Regions from separate parts of the Homo sapiens genome. Here region 1 is linked to region 2. The links are contacts of gene promoters, found by promoter capture Hi-C in blood cells and fetal thymus (Javierre and others, 2016). All regions are on one chromosome and are shown on one strand. Each heading gives the region's core, a stretch centred on a gene start or on the middle of the fragment in contact. The rest is flanking DNA. Distances are from core to core; before and after follow the strand shown. Region 1 overlaps GARIN1A (golgi associated RAB2 interactor 1A). Region 2 holds the start of OPN1SW (opsin 1, short wave sensitive).

Region 1 (7,293 bases), core at 1,086-3,585, 83 kb after region 2:
CAGCGTATTACCAAAGACTTGGTTTGGCCTGCAAAGATAGTAACATCTTTTTCTTTAAAGGTTAGACATAGTGAATAGAGTTCCTTAAGCCCTTGTTGATTGGCTTCTCATTGTTTGCAGCTAAACGTGAGACTGGTATAGACCTTAAAGCAAGAAGGCAACTTGCTATAGAGATAATGTCAGTACACAAAGACCAACGGAACTAGGAAGAAAGGAGTCCAGAAAAGAGCTGAGCAAAGCAAATTTCAGTCTTTAGTGAAGAAGGCTGGAAGTTCAGCCTTCAGAACTCCATGCATGATATTCACAGTTGAGTGACTATATTTATGCCTAAATTAACTGCCTTGCAAAATATATTTAGTCTTCATTTCAGTTTGTGAGTTTAGTCATTCTCCACAAACCCTTTTCCTGTGCTTATAACCTCCCAAAGTATTGTTATATATAGATGCATGGACTGGGTGGACTGAATTCTTATGCTCAGAGAGGAAAAATTCTTGTGACCAGTACCCCTTATAGAATTGTCCTATCAAAGTTTACTTACATTATCATGGGTTATATGTTACACGTGGACTAAAGTCCATGTGCTGGTTTTTTTCTTTCTTTCTTTCTTTTTTTTTTTGAGACAGAGTCTCACTCTCTTGCCCAGGCTGGAGTCCAGTGGCACAATCTCGACTCACTGCAACCTCTACCTCCCGGGTTCAAGCAATTGTCCCTGCCTCAGCCTCCCGAGTAGTTGGGATTACAGGCACCCACCACCATGCCTGGCTAATTTTTGTATTTTTTAGTAGAGACGGGGTTTCACCATGTTGGCTAGGCTAGTCTTGAACTCCTGACCTCAAGTGATCCGCCCGCCTCAGCCTCCCAAAGTGCTGGGATTACAGGCGTGAGCCACCATGCTCGGCCAGAGTTCTTGCTTTTACACTAAAAAGTTTCCAACACAAGAAGCTAACAATTCTACAGTGCAGCACCAAACCACTTTTCACTGTCTCCCAAGGCACAGTCATTTAATAATCAGTAGTCCAAGTACTAAGAATACTAAGAAAATTTCCTTGAAAACAGGCACCACGCCCTCTCCCCTCCTTGGCTCTGTGCATGGCCTGCCATTGAGGAACCTAAGAAACTACAACCTGCTGACACTCTTGTGGGGAGCGCCCTTATAGAATCTCCAGCATTGGTTGTCGTATCTGTAAAAGACAGGCAGCCGTGGAGACTAGGAGACCAGCTAGGCTTCCAGATCGAAGTCATTGCACTCCCCGTTGTATGATGGCATGTGTTGCTTGATCTTGGATGAGCCGACCCAGGTGACAAAGTCCTCCATGCGGCATGTGACAAAGAAAGGTGGAGTCGGTAACCACATCCAGGGCCTACAAGCACATGGCTTTGCTCCATGAAGGCCCTGCAGCCTGAGGAGAATGGTAGGGAGGAGGCAGCAGCGACAACGACAAGGACAAGGCCTGGACAAAGCCCTGACAATGTCGCAGAGTTCGAGCAAGCCATGTGTGGGCACCAGGCCCAGAGCATACAGCTTGTGCAGCAGTGTTTGGGCAGCTCTGGCATGCAAGGCTCCGCTGGCTGCAGCACGGGTCGGCCTCCCTCTGCAGCCAGGGAGGCAGCCCGTGGAGGCTGTGGTCCGTGACCTCCCATTTCAGGAAGTCCACCTGCTCCAGCAGCTTCTGCTCATGGAACTTAAGCTTCAGCACCACGATGACTACAGACAGAGTGGCAGGACCCCAAAACACCACATTCCTCTTGCATCCAGATATGGCCCTTGAACGGAGTGAGAGGAGGGATGGAGGTCACAGACATTTCTTTCCTTCCTTGTCCAAGGCAGTGTACTTAATTTGGAGACTTTAGAAAGATTATAAAAGCAACTTAGAATACTCTAACTGTGACTATTTCTTTGCATGTAATGGATATATGGTGTGTTTCTGGCTGCTGTTGCAATTATTAACACCACAAAACAATGTTTTCTTTGGACATAATTTAAAAATTCAGTGATAGTTTACTAAAAGAAAATTATCTGTATCCCCAATGGGGAAATAAATCGATTTGTTCTAAATCAGGCAGGAATCAGAGACAGAGCAAAATCCAGAACCGCCTTCTCTTAGACTATCTGTAGATTGTGGTAATTCTGGTGGTTTCAAGTTACAGCTTCTGTAAATGGCCTCAGCCTTAATAACTCTAAATATTCATTTTAAATTATGAAGCTTTACCACTCTCAGTGATTGGAACCACTTTTGAAGCCATGGTCTTGGATTTCTCGAGATGAGCCCCTTGTGTTTTGTTTTCTCTAAATTGATGACCTGTGTTTCTGGGAGGTCACTAATGAACCCAGAACCACGCGTTTCTATACATTCATGCTCCCAGCTTCTCTGCTTCCCTGCCGGCTGCCTCACCTACAACAGTAAAGCCCTAATTAACCCGCTGCTTATTTTTCTCAAGACTTACAAAGGCATTTATGAAGCTTCCATATAATTTCCACCACATCTTTTAAGAGGGTCCATTTGGGTGTTATTCCTTGAGGACATTTTCTCTTTTCTCTGAATTCCATGTCAGAAACTTTAAGATGCATTTTTACATTGTCTTGGGGATTGTTTTTGCAGATGCCATGTCCTGGTGGAGCATAATTAACTCCGGATAACAATGTTTTGTTTCTTTTCTCTTTTAAATGGTGTGTGTATTGGCCATTAGAAATTTCACCAATCCGTGTGGTGTTTTCATCTAAGAAATAGATTCTGAGAAATCAACTTCAAGGATGAGCCCAGTCAGCAAGGGCTGTTGTTTCTTCCCTCATTTTGAAGGAGAAACAATGTGGAGCAGCCACAGCTGGCTATGGCAGAAAGGGATTTATTTAACAAGAAATAGACACTTTAACTGGGTCAGTCTAGTAGGACCCAGGCACTGGCAGGTACACACATATGGCTGGCACGTTTCCCTACGCAGCTTCCATGTTTCTGGGCACAGAACCACATCAATTAGACTTCATGGGTGTACACGTAGAAAACATGCAGCCAACCCAAGCCGAAGGGAATTTATTGGAAGACTATTGGGGAGCTCTTCATACCAACTGAAGGTTAAAAGAACCAGGCATGGAGAATAGGCCAGAACCAAAAAGCAGTAAGCTGGAGGGAAGCCCAGCGACTGTCTCATGGCCGGGACTGCCTGGCCAGGATGGTGGCCCCACTGCGACAACGCCTGCATGGAGATGAGTGATGTTCCTGCTCACGTTACACAATTCAGGAAGGGGGCATCAAGCTAGCTAAGTCCATACCAGGGATCTGAAGGATGAAGGGAGGGAGTGGTTACTGGATACAGGAGAGTCTAGTAGAGGAAGCCACCACGAGAGGAGCAGTTTTGTTACCGGAAAGGGGTCCCGATCCAGACCCCAAGAGAGGGTTCTTGGACCTGGTACAAGAAGAACTCAGGGTCAGTCCATAAAGTGAAAGCAAGTTTATTAGAGAATAGCAGCCCTTTCGCATGCTAATGCATTATAATGAGCATATAATGAGCAGTGGGGACGACCAGAGGTCCCTTTTATCACCATCTTAGTGTTGGTGGGTCTTGGCCAGTGGTGTCTTTGTGACCTGTATCTTGTGCCAACCTCTTATCTCATCCTTTGACTAAGAATGCCTAGCCTCCTAGGAATGGAGCCCAGTAGGTCTCAGCCTTATTTTACCCAGCCCCCATTCAAGATGGAGTTGCTCTGGTTCAAATACTTCTGACAGTTTCCCTCTGTTAACAGCCTACCTTATGTCACCACAAGGGAGGAAATAGTTGTCCTGACCCCATTCTCCTCATCCTCTCTGATCTCCTGCCTGGGTTTCCCACTGGCCAAACCCACCTGGAAACCAGACGTGATGAGCTCTTAGATGTAGATCAGCTTGGAGAACATGCAGGAACCAAGGGAATTCTGGGGCACAGAACTTCCAGCCATGGAAGGGAAGGGTTTAATCTTCACCTTTTTTCCCTTCCCCTTTCCCCCATCCCCCAAATTGAGCTTCAACCATCCTCTGCTTTGATTCAATCTATATTCGATGTGTACAGTATTATGAATAGTCAAAGATATAGTACATACTTGAATTATATTTCTTTTTTTGTACAACTTCTTCCTCTCAGAGTTAATATTTATATTATTTTTTGTTTGCTTGGCTTAATAGTCCTATTCCTAACACACCCCTAAACTTTGCCATAAGCGTAAGTCTCTCAGTGCATTCAAACACATCAGGTATTCCATCAATTTGATCTTTGCGGAGATGTATTTAGCAGAGTCCTCTCTCCTGCTCCAGTAAGAGCTGACTGCTTTCTGGGGCTGCTGTTCTCCTGTCATTCTGGACTCTCTCTTCATCTCTCTTCACCTGGATATTGCCTTCACTTTTTTCCTACATTGAACCCACCACTTTCCTGGAGCCGTGTTTTTCTGAGTTGACTTCATTTTAATTGCGTACATCCTCTAGGAGTTTCTTAAGGAAGAGTTGTATGAAAAATTGCATAGAACATGTGGAAAAAGATTTTTTAAAAATAAAAAATAATTTTTAATTGCATGTATGAAGTTTGGAGATTTTAATACCTAAGGGTGAAAGTGATTTCACCAGGTGCACAAAAATCATTCCACCAACTGAAAACTGAACTGCGGCTGCCATTTTTGTCTCCTCCTACCATTAGGAGAGCATGGTGTTATGTGTAGAAGGGGGTTTTGGAGTTGTTAGAGTGGATTGACCGTTATTATTATTATTATTTATTTATTTATTTTTATTGATCATTCTTGGGTGTTTCTCACAGAGGGGGATTTGGCAGGGTCATAGGACAATAGTAGAGGGAAGGTCAGCAGATAAACAAGTGAACAAAGGTCTGGTTTTCCTAGGCAGAGGACCCTGCGGCCTTCCGCAGTGTTTGTGTCCCTGAGTACTTGAGATTAGGGAGTGGTGATGACTCTTAACGAGCATGCTGCCTTCAAGCATCTGTTTAACAAAGCACATCTTGCACTGCCCTTAATCCATTTAACCCTGAGTGGACACAGCACATGTTTCAGAGAGCATGGGGTTGGGGGTAAGGTCATAGATCAACAGCATCCCAAGGCAGAAGAATTTTTCTTAGTACAGAACAAAATGAAGTCTCCCATGTCTACTTCTTTCTGCACAGACACAGCAACAATCTGATTTCTCTAACTTTTCCCCACCTTTCCCCCTTTTCTATTCCACAAAACCGCCATCGTCATCATGGCCCGTTCTCAATGAGCTGTTGGGTACACCTCCCAGACGGGGTGGTGGCCGGGCAGAGGGGCTCCTCACTTCCTAGTAGGGGCGGCCGGGCAGAGGTGCCCCCCACCTCCCGGACGGGGCGGCTGGCTGGGCGGGGGCTGACCCCCCACCTCCCTCCCGGACGGGGTGGCTGGCCGGCGGGGGCTGACCCCCACCTCCCTCCCGGACGGGGTGGCTGCCGGGCGGGGACGCTCCTCACTTCCCAGACGGGGCGGCTGTCGGGCGGAGGGGCTCCTCACTTCCCAGACGGGGTGGCTGCCGGGCGGAGGGGCTCCTCACTTCTCAGACGGGGCGGCTGCCGGGCGGAGGGGCTCCTCACTTCTCAGACGGGGCGGCTGCCGGGCGGAGGGGCTCCTCACTTCTCAGACGGGGCGGCTGCCGGGCGGAGGGGCTCCTCACTTCTCAGATGGGGCGGCCAGGCAGAGACGCTCCTCACCTCCCAGTCGGGGTCACGGCCGGGCAGAGGCGCTCCTCACATCCCAGACGGGGCAGAGGCGCTCCCCACATCTCAGACGATGGGCGGCCGGGCAGAGATGCTCCTCAGTTCCTAGATGGGATGGCGGCCGGTAAGAGGTGCTCCTCACTTCCCAGACTGGGCAGCCGGGCAGAGGGGCTCCTCGCATCCCAGACGATGGGCGGCTAGGCAGAGACGCTTCTCACTTCCCAGACGGGGTGGCGGCTGGGCAGAAGCTGCAATCTCGGCACTTTGGAAGGCCAAGGTAGGCGGCTGGGAGGTGGAGGTTGTAGCGAGCCGAGATCACGCCACTGCACTCCAGCCTGGGCAACATTGAGCACTGAGTGAACAAGACTCCATCTGCAATCCCGGCACCTCGGGAGGCTGAGGCTGGCGGATCACTCGAGGTTAGGAGCTGGAGACCAGCCCGGCCAACACAGCGAAACCCCGTCTCCACCAAAAAAATACGAAAACCAGTCAGGCGTGGTGGCGCGCGCCTGCAATCGCAGGCACTCGGCAGGCTGAGGCAGGAGAATCAGGCAGGGAGGTTGCAGTGAGCAGAGATGGCGGCAGCACAGTCCAGCTTCGGCTCGGCATCAGAGGGAGACGGTGGAAAGAGAGGGAGAGGGAGACTGTGGGGAGAGGGAGGGGGGAGGGGGAGGGGGAGGGGAGGGGGAGGGGGGACCGTTATTATTAAAAGCAAAAAGATGGTTCTACAGAATGGGGGCAGAGAGGAGTAGGAATGGTACTCAGAGGAAACTGAGATGCCTCTTTACAGCTCTTGCCCAGTCAAAAGAAGATCACACAACTCTACATGTGCAAAACCATCAAGGGCTTAGGATTTTCAGGAGTGAAAGTTTGTGGACTCCCTACCAGGGAATGAACCCAGTCAAAGCAAGAGGTACCTGGAATGGTAGTATAGGAGGGAAGTAAGAAATGACAACTACTACTGACTTGTAACCAAGAAGCAGAAAGAACTAAAACTTCCACCTGTATTTCTTTCTTTGCAGTGATGTATGTTATTTAAATTAAATCCTTCTCTCATTTTGTGCATAGGGTATGCTTGTGGCGTTTATATTTACTGTTTGGTCTAGAAGTTTTGTGATACAAAGGTAAGGAAGAAACCAGGGGGGCCAGGCGCGGTGGCTCACGCCTGTAATCCCAGCACTTTGGGAGGCCGAGGTGGGCAGATCATGAGGTCAGGAGATCGAGACCATCCTGGCCAACCTAGTGAAACCCCATCTCTACTAAAAATACAAAAATTAGCTGGATGTGGTGGCGCGTGCCTTTAATCCCAGCTACTCGGGAGGCTAAGGCAGGAGAATTGCTTGAACCTGGGAGGTGGAGGTTGCAGTGAGCCGAGATCACTGCACTCCAGCCTGGGCGACAGAGCAAGACTTCATCTCCAAAAAAAAAAAAGATTGTATGTGGGTTTGGACAGTGTCCGAGAAGAATCTAGGTCTCATAGAGGATGTCAAGGCGTAACAATACTCTAAAAAAATGACTAGGCAAGCAAGCAGGTTGATTTACCATGATCACATAGGTGCCCAAAGTAGACAGAGATTCAATGAACCAAAACAGAAT
Region 2 (6,649 bases), core at 2,064-4,563:
CCTGAAGTCCTGCCCAGGGCAACGGATGAGCAGCTCTGCTCATCTGTACAAGGCTAGGTGGCCACATCTTTGGCCCCTCCTAATACTGTCCTCACACCTTCCCAGACAGTGCCCTCCCACCCTGTTCCCCCCATGACTCAGGCAATCTGACTGGACCCTTAGCTGGCTCTCCCCAGTAACCTCCACCAGGACTCCCACCTGCGGCCGAGTGTTTGTGTGGGATGTGCATGTGTGCGCATGCACATGAGAGTGGCGGTCTTTCGGAAATAATTAAGTCAGCTGGGCACAGTGGCTCATGCCTGTAATCCCAGCACTTCGGGAGGCCGAGGTGGTCAGATCACCTGAGGTCAGGAGTTTGAGAACAGCCTGGCCAAAATGGTGAAACCCTGTCTCTACTAAAAATGCAAAAATTAGCTGGGCATGGTGGCACAGACCTGTAATCCCAGCTACATGGGAGACTGAGGCAAGAGAATCACTTGAACCCAGGAGATGGAGGTTGCAGTGACCTGAGATTGGCTCAGATCCTACTGAGGAGATGCTGGAGACAGGAGAGAACTATTTTGTTTTGCTTCAGGTTTCATTGATTTTTCTCCATTCTTTATTCATTTTTAATTTCAATGTTTTCTGCTCTGCTTTTTAGTATCTGCCCCTATTTATTTTAGATTTGATTCACCCTTTCAGCTTCTCAAGGTGAAAGTTTAAATTTTAAACATTTATTGTCTAGTATAAATACTTAAAGCTATAAATTTTTCTCTAAGTACTGCTTTAGCTGACTCCTTCAATTTCTAATACTTTTTTGTTGTTATTCAGCTGAAATTCTTTCAGTTTTTCCTTATGATTTCTCTTTTGACTCACAGGATATTTAGATGTATATTGCTTATTCATAAGTGTTTGGGGGATTTTCCAGATATCTTTTTGTTATTGATCTATCTGTAAGTTCACTGATCCTTTCTTCTGCTGTCCAATCTGCTGTTCAGCCATCTAGTAAATTCTTCATTTGACATGTTGTAGTTTTCAGTTCTGGAATTTCCATTTGGCTATTTTATTTTTCCCATTCTTCTGCTGAGATCCATTAACTCACGATGATCATTTTTTTCCTTCCAGTTCTTGAATATATTTATATCGCTGTTTGAAGTTTTTCCTGCTGGTGCCAACTTCTTGGGTCATCTCAGGTTCTGTTTCTATTGCTTGCTTTTTCTTTTGGCTATGACTCATATTTTCCTGTGGGTTTTTTTTTTCTTTCACACGCCTTTTAATTTTTCATTGTATATTAGACATTGTAGATAGTGAACTTTAGAAACTGGGTTATCTTCCATTGAGGGGTGTTGATTTTTGTTCTAATAAGCAATTAACTTACTAGTTGATCACCTTGAACCCGCTGAGGCTTGGTTTTATCTTTTGCTAGTATGAGTCAGCTTTGGCTTTGACCTTACTCTCAGAACAAATATTTAGTCCTGGGATATAGATTTTAGCTCTATGGTGTGGCCTTTTGGGAGTTTCAAGTAGAAAGCCCTAAGTGTTTACCCAGACCCTCTGACTTGGGATTCAAATTCAAACTCTTTCTCTGCTACAGTGGGTAACAGTCAAAATCTGCTTAGCTCTTTCAGACCTCCAGTGGTTGTCTTTTACTGGGCTCTTGGAAATTCCTCCATCCACAGTTCAGCAGTCAGCCTATGATTTGAGGGGAGTTTATATGCAGATTTAAAGACTTTGCCTTCTGTGGCTTCTTTCATTCCAGGAAATCCACCTTCAGCTGTTCTGGAGTCCCAAACTGTCCTCTGTCTCCTGTCCTCTGTCCTCTGACTCTTCAAGCCAAAAAAGGCTGGGGCTTTCTGCTCAAGTTCTAGCTATCCTGTGCCATTTATACTCGGGAGTACACTCAGGGAAAAAAAAAAACAACAATGTAGATGGTTCTTTTCATTGAAGAGTTGAGTTCCTTTCAGTTTCTGCCTGCTTTGGATACTTTAGGTGTTTTCAAAAAGTTGTTTTTCATATTGTGTCCAGTTTACAATTTTTTTGCCTAAGGGGGCATTCATCTAATAAACTATTCTGCCATTACTGGACCATCCTTTCACTTTTAAACTTACTTATACCTAAAGTGTGTCACTTTTAACTCATCTATATATATAGTCTCGCTCTGTCCCACAGGCTGGAGTGCAGTGGCGTGATCTCGGCTCACTGCAGGCTCCGCCTCCCGGGTTCACGCCATTCTCCTGCCTCAGCCTCCCAAGTAGCTGGGACTACAGGCGCCCACCACCACACCCAGCTAATTTTTTGTATTTTTAGTAGAGACGGGGTTTCACCGTTAGCCAGGATGGTCTCGATCTCCTGACCTTGTGATCCACCCATCTCAGCCTCCCAAAGTGCTGGGATTACAGGCTTGAGCCACCACGCCCGGCCAACTCATCTATATATTTATGATCTGCTGAGGTGGAAAAGATTCATTCATAAAGCCTAAAGTGTAGTACTGAGTACAAGTGCAGGTGGAACTTAAAGCAGAGTTGGTGTCACTGGGGTGGGCTGCACAGAAGAGGTGTTTGTGAGGTAGGCTGTGAGGGCTAGATAAGACTTCAATGAACAGACAGGAGGAAGACTGTGGCGACTTGTTGAGCTAAGGGTAGGGGTAGGCATGAACATGGCGTAAGGACAGTGAACAGACCCACCTCCCTGGCTGGAGGTCTGAGTAGGAAAGGCACACTCTTTGAGTAGATTCAACACAAAGAAATGGAGGCAGCCTGGCTCAGGGATGCCCTAGACCTCTAGGCATTGTCAAGTTGCCTAAGTCCTGTTCCATCAAGGCTGTTTACTGATGTGCTTCCAGGGCACTCCCCACTCCCAGCCCTTTCCTGCAGCCCAGGGCTGGTTCCTAGCCTCTCAGCAGACTTAAGATGGGCACCTTCCACAAAGGGGCAGATGAGTTGAGGAAAACTTAACTGATACAGTTGTGCCAGAAGCCAAAATAAGAGGCGTGCCCTTTCTATAGCCCCATTAAAAGAACAAAAAAGTGGAAGCATCTTCAGTGAATATGGGTCAGCACCTCCCAGACCTCAGGGAGTCCACTTCTGTTCATCCCAGCACCCAGCATTGCATATCCAGATTATTTGAGCCCAATCTCTTATCCTCTGAAGAACACAATCGGCTTTGGGGCCACAAAAGGTTTAGGTAGTGGTTTAGGGATTTCTAATCCCAAACTTTGTCCTTGGGAGGTTTAGGATTAGTATTGATCATTCACAGAGCCCAAGTGTTTTTAGAGGAGGGGTTTTGTGGGGTGGGAGGATCACCTATAAGAGGACTCAGAGGGGGGTGTGGGGCATCCATGAGAAAAATGTCGGAGGAAGAGTTTTATCTGTTCAAAAATATCTCTTCAGTGGGGCCGTGGGATGGGCCTCAGTACCACATTGCCCCTGTCTGGGCCTTCTACCTCCAGGCAGCTTTCATGGGCACTGTCTTCCTTATAGGGTTCCCACTCAATGCCATGGTGCTGGTGGCCACACTGCGCTACAAAAAGTTGCGGCAGCCCCTCAACTACATTCTGGTCAACGTGTCCTTCGGAGGCTTCCTCCTCTGCATCTTCTCTGTCTTCCCTGTCTTCGTCGCCAGCTGTAACGGATACTTCGTCTTCGGTCGCCATGTTTGTGCTTTGGAGGGCTTCCTGGGCACTGTAGCAGGTACTGCAGGGGAAAAAGGGGTTAGGGGAAGGCAAAGGTTGCTACTCCACTGGAGGGGGTTCCTAAAGAGGAGTCTGGGGGAAATGAGTCTGGTGCTTTTTAAAATACTGGGGTACAAAGCAACCCAGACTAGAAGTTTGGCTAAAATAGGATGTTTGAGTCTTCACTCCAAATGTCAGTCCAGCCCTGTCTCTCTGTGCTTGCTCCACCCGATCTGTTTGCCACTCTGCCAGCCAGGCTGGGTGGGGCTCTGTCTAGCCCATTATCCTCACATTTCACCACAGGTCTGGTTACAGGATGGTCACTGGCCTTCCTGGCCTTTGAGCGCTACATTGTCATCTGTAAGCCCTTCGGCAACTTCCGCTTCAGCTCCAAGCATGCACTGACGGTGGTCCTGGCTACCTGGACCATTGGTATTGGCGTCTCCATCCCACCCTTCTTTGGCTGGAGCCGGTGAGAGTGCAGGGCAGTGGTGCTGAGTTAACTAGGAGCTCAGGTTGATGTGGGTGGAAAGAGAGCTTGGGTATAACTATTTAGTCTTTGACCTCTACTTTTAAAGAGTTGCAATATGAGGCGAAAGGGCAGTGGGAGACAAGTGCTAACGTTTACTCTGCAGTTGGAATTGCTGTAGCTTCTCCCAGTCAGGACAGAAAACCCCCCTGCTTGAAGCCTTAGGGCATTCCGTGGGTTCTAAGTGGAGAACACAATCCAGGCATCTCAGCTCCCACTGCACTCTTGTGGAGAGTCCAGTGAGCAAGTGTTTGGTCCTTTGCAGGTTCATCCCTGAGGGCCTGCAGTGTTCCTGTGGCCCTGACTGGTACACCGTGGGCACCAAATACCGCAGCGAGTCCTATACGTGGTTCCTCTTCATCTTCTGCTTCATTGTGCCTCTCTCCCTCATCTGCTTCTCCTACACTCAGCTGCTGAGGGCCCTGAAAGCTGTGAGTGGCATTTGATAGTCAGGGAAGAAGGGGTTCGGGGCTCCACATGAGAAGGAAGAGTGCTCTGAAACATAAGATGCCTGGAAATGTCCATAGCCAGAGAGGGTATCTAAAAGCAGCAAAGGAAGTAGGAGGAGGGAGAATGATGGAGATCCAAAGGAACTAGGCCAGGAGATGGGACAGAAAAGAGGCAATCAGAGTGGATGCCCCCTCCCCCATCCCACAGAAAAGCATCCAGAGACCGGGCGCAGTGGCTCACGCCTATAATCCCAGCACTTTGGGAGGCCGAAGCAGACGGATCACCTGAGGTCAATAGTTCCAGACCAGCCTGGCCTACATGGCAAAATGCTAAAATGCGAAAATTAGCTGGGCATGGTGGTGTGTGCTTGTAACCCCAGCTACTCAGGAGGCTGAGACAAAAGAATCACTTGAACCCGGGAGGTGGAGGTTCAGTGAGCCGAGACTGCACCACTGCAACTCCAGCCTGGGCAACAGAGCGAGACTCGGTCTCAAAAAGAAAATTAAAAATTAAAAATTAAAAAAAAAAAAAAAAAGCATCCAGAGGGCCAGGAAAAAGAGAGATGTGATGCTTTCCGTGCTCCACCCCAGGTTGCAGCTCAGCAGCAGGAGTCAGCTACGACCCAGAAGGCTGAACGGGAGGTGAGCCGCATGGTGGTTGTGATGGTAGGATCCTTCTGTGTCTGCTACGTGCCCTACGCGGCCTTCGCCATGTACATGGTCAACAACCGTAACCATGGGCTGGACTTACGGCTTGTCACCATTCCTTCATTCTTCTCCAAGAGTGCTTGCATCTACAATCCCATCATCTACTGCTTCATGAATAAGCAGGTAAAGCTCTTTATTCACATTCCTATGGTCCAGAAGACCCTGGTTCTTTTCTCACCATTGACTTTTAACTCAGAGCACCCTGGACTCTACCCAGGTTTCTAGTAGACGAGGGAAGCCACAAAACCCCCGAGTAGGTTGGGAAGCCTTTGGTAAGCACAGGGAGGAAGGCACGGTTATCAAGACGAGAAAATAGAACCCCGGAGGAAAGAACTTGAGTCAGGAAAATGAAGTTGCTCCAAAGAACAGGATGAATGAAAGCATTTTATTGAAAAACTCGTGCAGCAAACCACCATGGCACACGTTTACCTATGTAACAAACCTGCACATCCTGCACATGTATCCTGGAACTTAAATAAAATTAAAAAAATAAAAATAAAAACTCAGATTCCTCTCAATTTTCAGTCCTTGCATTTAATAATTTCTTAATCATTTCCCTTCCAACTTTTAGCCTGCACGAGCATGTGTGAAGCACAGAAATCATACCACATGCAAAAATCTCTAAAATATCTTATCATCTGAAGGTACTGGGGGATTTCCTATCCCATCTGAAATCCGAGCTAATAAACACCAAACCCTAAGTGGCAAAAACCCTACTTTCAGATGGTATTGTTTCCTCAATCCCAGAGGTAGACTCAAAACTAATTTGAAACCTCCCTGGATAGAAGAGAATTGGCAGTCCTTTCCAGCTGGGAGCACCTGCTAGTAATGGAGGGGCCTCTGCTGACAGTGCTTTTATGAAGCAGGATGGTTTGTGAATTTACCAACAGTGAGGTCTCAGACTTGACCAGTTTAGGATTACCGTAGACCCAGGAGTAGTTCTAGACTGGAATCTAGATAGTTTTCAGGATGGGGAAGATAGATTCAAAACCACCTAAGGGCATTCTGGGTACAAAGCATTGTGCAAGGCTTTGGTGATACAGAGAATAAGGTCTTTTTTCCCATACTTCCTCATCTGCCAAGGTTATCTCCAATTGTACCTTTCTCTCCAGTTCCAAGCTTGCATCATGAAGATGGTGTGTGGGAAGGCCATGACAGATGAATCCGACACATGCAGCTCCCAGAAAACAGAAGTTTCTACTGTCTCGTCTACCCAAGTTGGCCCCAACTGAGGACCCAATATTGGCCTGTTTGCAACAGCTAGAATTAAATTTTACTTTTAAGTAAGTTTCTATTGTCTCCGTCAGAAACCAA

What was found. The method cuts DNA at HindIII sites, captures the fragments that hold promoters and counts their contacts. A CHiCAGO score of 5 or more calls a contact.
Region 1: a contact is called between a fragment that was not itself captured here and the fragment with the promoter of OPN1SW in region 2, in 1 of 17 cell types (M1 macrophages). The highest score is 7.2, in M1 macrophages.

The regions. Positions count from the first base shown.
Region 1 is chr7:128,687,857-128,695,149 of GRCh38, reverse strand. It overlaps GARIN1A (golgi associated RAB2 interactor 1A), which reads right to left. Exons shown (of 5, transcript NM_001128926.4): 5 at 7,273-7,293. It also overlaps the pseudogene IMP3P2. Among named protein-coding and RNA genes, the nearest start is that of GARIN1A, 19 kb to the right of the region's middle. RefSeq lists an enhancer at 1,069-1,569. The HindIII fragment of the contact is 257 bases long and covers 2,207-2,463 here.
Region 2 is chr7:128,772,458-128,779,106 of GRCh38, reverse strand. OPN1SW (opsin 1, short wave sensitive) reads left to right here and starts at 3,313. Exons shown (of 5, transcript NM_001385125.1): 1 at 3,313-3,668; 2 at 3,953-4,121; 3 at 4,444-4,609; 4 at 5,219-5,458; 5 at 6,448-6,622. The coding sequence starts at 3,326. The coding sequence ends at 6,567. CALU (calumenin) reads right to left here. Exons shown (of 7, transcript NM_001219.5): 7 at 5,707-6,649. RefSeq lists cis regulatory regions at 2,847-3,316, 2,217-3,316, 1-3,316, 1-3,316, 2,325-3,319 and 1 more. The HindIII fragment of the contact is 6,893 bases long and covers 1-6,456 here.